Regions from separate parts of the Homo sapiens genome. Here region 1 is linked to region 2. The links are contacts of gene promoters, found by promoter capture Hi-C in human tissues and cell types (Jung and others, 2019). All regions are on one chromosome and are shown on one strand. Each heading gives the region's core, a stretch centred on a gene start or on the middle of the fragment in contact. The rest is flanking DNA. Distances are from core to core; before and after follow the strand shown.

Region 1 (3,225 bases), core at 122-2,621, 56 kb before region 2:
TCAGAAGATGTATGGAAACACTTGGATGCCCAGACAAACATTTGCTGCAGGGGCGGGACCCTCATGGAGAGACTCTGCTAGGGCAGTGCAGAAGGGAAATGTGGGGTTGGAGCCCCCACACAGAGTCCCTACTGGGGGCACTGCCTAGTGGAGCTGTGAGAAGAGGGCCACCATCCTCCAGACCCCAGAATGGTAGATCCACTGGTAGCTTTCACTGTGCATCTGGAAAAACCGCAGACACTCAATGCCAGCCCATGAAAGCAGCTTGGGAGAGAGGCTGTACCCTGCAAAGCCACAGGGGCAGAGCTGCCCAAGACCATGGGAACACACCTCTTGCATCAGTGTGACTTGGATGTGGACATGGAGTCAAAGGAGATCATTTTGGAGCTTTAAGATTTGACTGCCCTGCTGGATTTTGGACTTGCATGGGCCCTGTAACCCCTTTGTTTTGGCCAAGTTCTCCCATTTGGAACAGCTGTATTTACCTAATACCTGTACCCCCATTGTATCTAGGAAGTAACTAGTTTGCTTTTGATTTTACAGGCTCATAGGTGGAAGGACTTGCCTTGTCTCGGATGAGACTTTGGACTGTGAACTTTTAGGTTAATGCTGAAATGAGTTAAGACTTTGGGGGATTGTTGGGAAGGCATGATTGGTTTTGTAACATGAAGACGTGAAATTTGGAGGGGCCAGGGTTGGAATGATAAGGTTTTGCTGTGTCCGCACCCAAATTTCAACTTGAATTGTATCTCCCAGAATTCCCCGTGTTGGGGGAGGGACCCAGGGGAGGTAATTGAATCACAGGGGTTGGCCTTTTCCATGCCATTCTCATGATAGTGAATAAGTCTCACAAGATCTGATGGGTTTAACCGGGGTTTCCACTTTTGCTTCTTCCTCATTTTCTCTTGCTGCCACTGTGTAAAGAAGTGCCTTTCACCTCCCACCATGATTCTGAGGCCTCCCCAGCCATGTGGAACTATAAGTCCGATTAAACCTCTTTTTCCTCTCAGCCTTATGTCTTTATCAGCAGCATAAAAACAGACTAATACATTAAGATTCCTTGTGAAAATTCTCTTTATCCTCTATGAAACTGAAAGGATTCAGAGGGTACTGTTGACAGAGACAAAGACAAAGCAGTTGCAGTGGTTGATTACCCTTAAATATTTGGCTTTTTTAACCCAAAAAGTACAAACTTTTGGTTAAAGCATGTAATAAAATGTAAATCAACTACTGCCTTAAAGATTGGGTAAAAATCTACATTTAAGATTTTTTTTTAAAAAAAAAAAACCTTTCTTGACCAAAATTTCATCATGATTTCATGATCCATAAGCGTTGTGCCTTGTATGCCAACTAATCTTTGGCGGTGGATAGTGGAAGTACATGTATAATTAATCTTTCCTCATATTGAAATCACTCAACCAACACAGTCTTTCTAGGATTAGATATTTGTGCTATCTTGTTTGTGTTTTTACTCCAATTTGTATGGTTGAGAAAGTCCATAAAGTACAGAGAAAATGTAAAAGAAAATTTCAGGCACCTGTTGGAATTATTACTAATGTAATTCCTGATTTATTCCTGCTATGGTTTCAATGTGTCCCCCAAAGTTCATGTGTTATAAAATTAATCTTTAAGGCCAGGCACGGTGGCTCATGCTTGTAATCCCAGCACTTTGGGAGGCCAAGGCGGGAGGATCACCTGAGGTCAGGAGTTTGAAATCGGCCTGACCAATATGATGAAACCCTGTCTCCACTAAAAATTCAAAAATTAGCCAGGAATGGTGGCATACACCTGTAATCCCCGCTAATTGGGAGGCTGAGACAGGAGAATTGCTTGAACCCAGGAGGCAGAGTTTGCAGTGAGCTGAGATCGTGCCACTGCACTCCAGCCTGGGCAACAAGAGTGAAACTCTGTCTCAAAAAAAAAAATTTAAGGCAACAGTCTTGGGAAGTGGGGCCTGATAAGAGGTGATTAGTTTCTGAGAGCTCTGCTGTCGTCAATGGATTAATGTCATTATCACAGGAGTAGGTTAGTTATCATGATAGTGGGTTGCTATAAAAGCGAGTTTGGCCACTTCTTGTTCTCTTGCTCTCACACGCCCTCTCTTGCCTTTCCACTTTTCACCATGAGATGATGCAGCAAAAAGGCCCTCACCAGAGGCAGACCCTCAATGTTGGACTTCACAGCCTCCAGAACTTTAAGAAATAAATTTCTGTTCTTTTAAAATTACCCAGTCTGGGCTGGGCATGGTATCTCACACCTGTAATCCCAGCACTTTGGGAGGCTGAGGCTGGCAGATTGCTTGAACCCAAGAGTTTAAGACCAGCCTGGGCAACATGGCAAAATTCCATCTCTACAAAAAATACAAAAATCAGCCAGGTATGGTGGCATGCACCTGTGGATCCAGCTACTCGGGAGGCTCAGGTGGGAGGATCACTTGAGCCCAGGAGGTTGAGGCTGCAGTGAGCTGTGATCATGCCACTGTATTCCAGCCTGGGCAACAGAGTGAGACTCTGTCTCAAATAAAATAAAATAAAATAAAATAAATAAAATAAAATAAAATAAAATAAAATAAAATAAAATAAAATAACCCAGTCTGTGGTATTCTGGGATAACAACACAAAATGCATGAAGGTAATGCCAACCAAAAGAAAACAAAAAATTGTTCATGAATATGCTGATTTGTTCATTCAGTATTAATTGCAAAATATTTTATGGTTAGTTATCCATTGCTACATAACAAATTATCCCAGAACTTAGAGACTTAAGACAACAACAATCATTTATTATCTCTCACAGGATATAACTTGGTGTGGTGGTTCTGGCTGAGAATCCCTTGTGAGGTTACAGTTCAGATGTCAACCAGAACTGCAGCTATCTGAAAGCTTGACTGGGGCTGGAGAATCCACTTTCAAGGTAGCTTTCTCCCATCACTAGCAAGTGGTTGCTGGCTGTTTGTGGGAGGCCTCAATTCCTCTCCAGGTATCAACTAGAGAGGAATTGAGGCCTCCCACAGAATCTAGCTAATTCTTAGCGAGAGCCACCATACCAAGTTATATCTTATGAGAAAGAATAAATGATTATTGTTGTTTTAAGCCTCTAAGTTCTGGGGAAATTTGTTATGTAGCAATAGATGACTAATAATAAAATAGTTTTGCAATGAATGCTGAATGAATGAATTAGCATATTTATGAACAATTTTTTGTTTGTTTTCTTTTGGTTTGTCAT
Region 2 (3,371 bases), core at 139-2,638:
CAGTAAGTGTTGCTGGTGATTCAAACCCAGGTCCGTCTGGCTTTTGGAACTCATGTCCTCACATTCACTGGTCTGCAGAGTAGCACCAAGTACCTTTTACCACCCTGACCAGCTCCTGGGTACTGCCCTCCTGCCTGCAGGCCTGAACACCATGACATCCAGCTAGCCCCTGTCCCCTATGACATCCTTCTCCCTCTTGCCAATGAAACCCAGTAGATCAGGCTGCCTGACAAAAAAATTTCTTGTGATGCCTTGGACTGTGGCATTCATCCTAAATGCCTCCCTAACAGCATGGCCCATTGCTCCTCTAAGAGTCTGGCTCACACTCTTACTGAGTTTTTGCTTATGCCCTTTGCCCTTCTTGGATGCCCTTCCCTAACCCTTCAAGGGCCACTCAGTTGAAGTTCCAGAAGACTACAAATTCCTCAATCCAGTCATCTCACACAATTCTGGGTTTCAGAGCCAGAAGTGCCCCCACCACAGAAATCTCTGGCTCAATGCCAAGTCAGGAAGCTGCAAAGAGCAAGGAGGGCCTGTGTTCCAGTCCTCAAAGGATGGGGAAGGGGAATGACAGCCAGGCAGCTGTTCCTTTCAGATCCCGAACCGTCAGATTTTTCCTCCAAATCTTGCTTGGGACAAGGGGTTAAATGATGTTGACAGAAGGGTGATTGAAGAAAGAGACAGGACTGGTTGAGAGATTGCCCAACACTTTGGGAGGCTGAGGTGGAAAGATGGCTTGAGCCCAGGGGTTTAAAACCAGCTTGGGCAATATAGCAAGACCCCATTTCTAAAAAAAAAAATTATTTTTAATTAGCTGGGTGTGGTGGCGTCCGCCTGTGGTCCCAGCTATTTGTGCACTGAGGCAAGGAAAATCGCCTGAACCCAGGAGGTGGAGGCTGCAGTGAGCTGTGATTGTGCCACTCCAGCCTGGGTGACAGAGTGAGACCCTGTCTCAAAACATATAAACGTGTGTGTGTGTGTGTGTGTGTGTGTGTGTGTATTCCAGGGAACATTAAGACTTAGAGGCAAACTCCAGAACTTAAAGAAAAAACATGAAAGTGCTAAAAAATTCCGTGCTTGTGGAGAGAGAATTCCAACTCTTTCCCTGAACCCGGGCTGAGTCCCTTCGCTGTGAGGTTGGGGGGATGAGTGGGAGCCCAGTGCCTGGCGCCGAGTGAAGGCAGCCATTGTGAGTTCCTGGGCTGGGGAAGGGAGGCTCAGTGCCCAAGGATGTGACCAGGCGTGAGGCCCGGGGAAAGAGCAGCGCGGCGACCCCGCAGTATCCGAGGCGACAGGGTGTGGGGGAGGGGGTGGGGAGTCAAAGGCGGAGTCACGGGCTCCGCCCTCTTTCTCCTGCTTGGCGCGAGCACAGGCACCGCGTGGTTCTCACAACCAGCAGCTCGGCTCACTGAGACCCGGTGGTCCAGACGCTGCTCCTGGCTGGGGTGGCGCTGCAGGGAGAACCGCGAGCTCTCAGGGGTCGGCGGGTGACTTCTTTCCGGAAGAAAGCGAGGAACGCGCTCTGCGGGGTGAGCCGGACTCCCCAACTCCGGACGATCAGCCCAGGACTGAGAGCCCCGAAGTCCCCAACCACAAGTAAGCGGCCCCAGAAGGACAAGTCTAGGTCGCCGTCCAGAGCGCCATGGCCGCGCCCGCCCTTCGTTTGTGCCACATCGCCTTCCACGTGCCCGCCGGGCAGCCCCTAGCCCGGAACCTGCAGCGCCTCTTCGGCTTCCAGCCCCTGGCTTCGCGGGAGGTGGACGGCTGGCGGCAGCTAGCCCTGCGCAGCGGCGACGCGGTCTTTTTGGTGAACGAGGGCGCAGGGTCTGGAGAGCCGCTGTACGGCCTGGATCCGCGTCACGCCGTGCCCAGCGCCACAAACCTGTGCTTCGACGTGGCGGACGCCGGCGCTGCAACCCGGGAGCTGGCAGCGCTGGGCTGCAGCGTGCCTGTCCCTCCCGTTCGCGTGCGGGACGCGCAGGGTGCCGCCACTTACGCCGTGGTCAGCTCGCCTGCCGGCATCCTCAGCCTGACCTTGCTGGAGCGCGCTGGCTACCGCGGACCCTTCCTACCCGGCTTCAGGCCCGTGTCCTCTGCGCCTGGCCCCGGGTGGGTCAGCCGCGTGGACCACCTGACCTTGGCCTGCACCCCCGGCAGCTCCCCCACACTTTTGCGCTGGTTCCACGACTGCCTGGGCTTTTGCCACTTGCCGCTGAGCCCAGGTGAGGATCCCGAGCTGGGCCTCGAAATGACAGCAGGGTTTGGGCTTGGGGGACTGAGGCTTACAGCCCTGCAGGCCCAGCCGGGCAGCATTGTCCCCACTCTTGTTCTGGCTGAGTCCCTTCCGGGGGCGACGACACGACAGGACCAGGTGGAGCAGTTCCTGGCCCGGCACAAGGGGCCAGGCCTGCAGCACGTGGGGCTGTATACGCCTAACATTGTGGAGGCCACTGAGGGGGTGGCAACTGCTGGAGGCCAGTTCCTGGCTCCCCCTGGGGCATACTACCAGCAGCCAGGAAAGGAGAGGCAGATCCGAGCTGCAGGGCACGAGCCTCATCTGCTTGCTCGACAGGGGATCCTGCTAGATGGTGATAAAGGCAAGTTTCTGCTTCAGGTCTTCACCAAGTCCCTTTTTACTGAGGACACTTTCTTCCTGGAGCTGATTCAGAGGCAGGGGGCCACTGGCTTTGGTCAGGGCAACATCAGAGCTCTGTGGCAGTCCGTACAGGAGCAATCTGCCAGGAGCCAGGAAGCCTAAGGATGCCCAGGGCTGGGTGCAGCCAGCTGTCCTGCAGCTCTGGGGAGACCAGCACAGAACTGAGGAACATCTGCAGGAGGCCCAACTAGTGAAAGGCTTTGCCTCCGGGGGGCAGGTGTGACTTCCATTTCATCAGTGCCTGCCAGAAGCTGTGTCTCTCATTGGGCTCCAAAGAGGTGGGATTTTTTAAAACTAAAACATTTCTTATATACAGTCTATAATAAATATGTAAGATACAAAGAACAATAAAAGAATTACACACTAGGAAATAGAACATAACCAATACTTTCGAGTCCTCCCTGTGTCCCGCTGTGATTCTATTTCCTCCCACCCACTCCTCAAATCCTGTCATTATTAGCCCTTTGCTTTTCTGTATTGTTTCACTCCGTATGTAACATAACCCTAAATAAATTATTTCGTATTTGAGGTAGGAATTTAAAACAGAACAAATCTTCTCCTGTGCTTCCTCTCCCCCTAGGGAGCGACCACTCAGGTGGGGAGGGGCTGGGTGAGAGTTGAGCCCAACTACCTACTCCAGAGTGATGCCACCACTCCAATTAGAGCTGACCTGAGACGTAAACAGAGGGTGTTGTGTGTCAGCCACTGGCAGGTT

Evidence for each region. Contacts are between HindIII fragments. The study calls those that stand out against the background at their distance.
Region 1: a contact is called between a fragment that was not itself captured here and the fragment with the promoter of HPDL in region 2, in 1 of the 25 tissues and cell types used here (aorta).

The regions. Positions count from the first base shown.
Region 1 is chr1:45,269,905-45,273,129 of GRCh38, forward strand. No RefSeq gene overlaps it. Among named protein-coding and RNA genes, the nearest start is that of LINC01144, 32 kb to the right of the region's middle. The HindIII fragment of the contact is 5,266 bases long and covers 1-3,225 here.
Region 2 is chr1:45,325,507-45,328,877 of GRCh38, forward strand. It overlaps HPDL (4-hydroxyphenylpyruvate dioxygenase like), which reads left to right and starts at 1,389. Exons shown (of 1, transcript NM_032756.4): 1 at 1,389-3,204. The coding sequence starts at 1,643. The coding sequence ends at 2,758. RefSeq lists enhancers at 1,421-1,470, 1,481-1,730, 2,491-2,600. The HindIII fragment of the contact is 17,678 bases long and covers 1-3,371 here.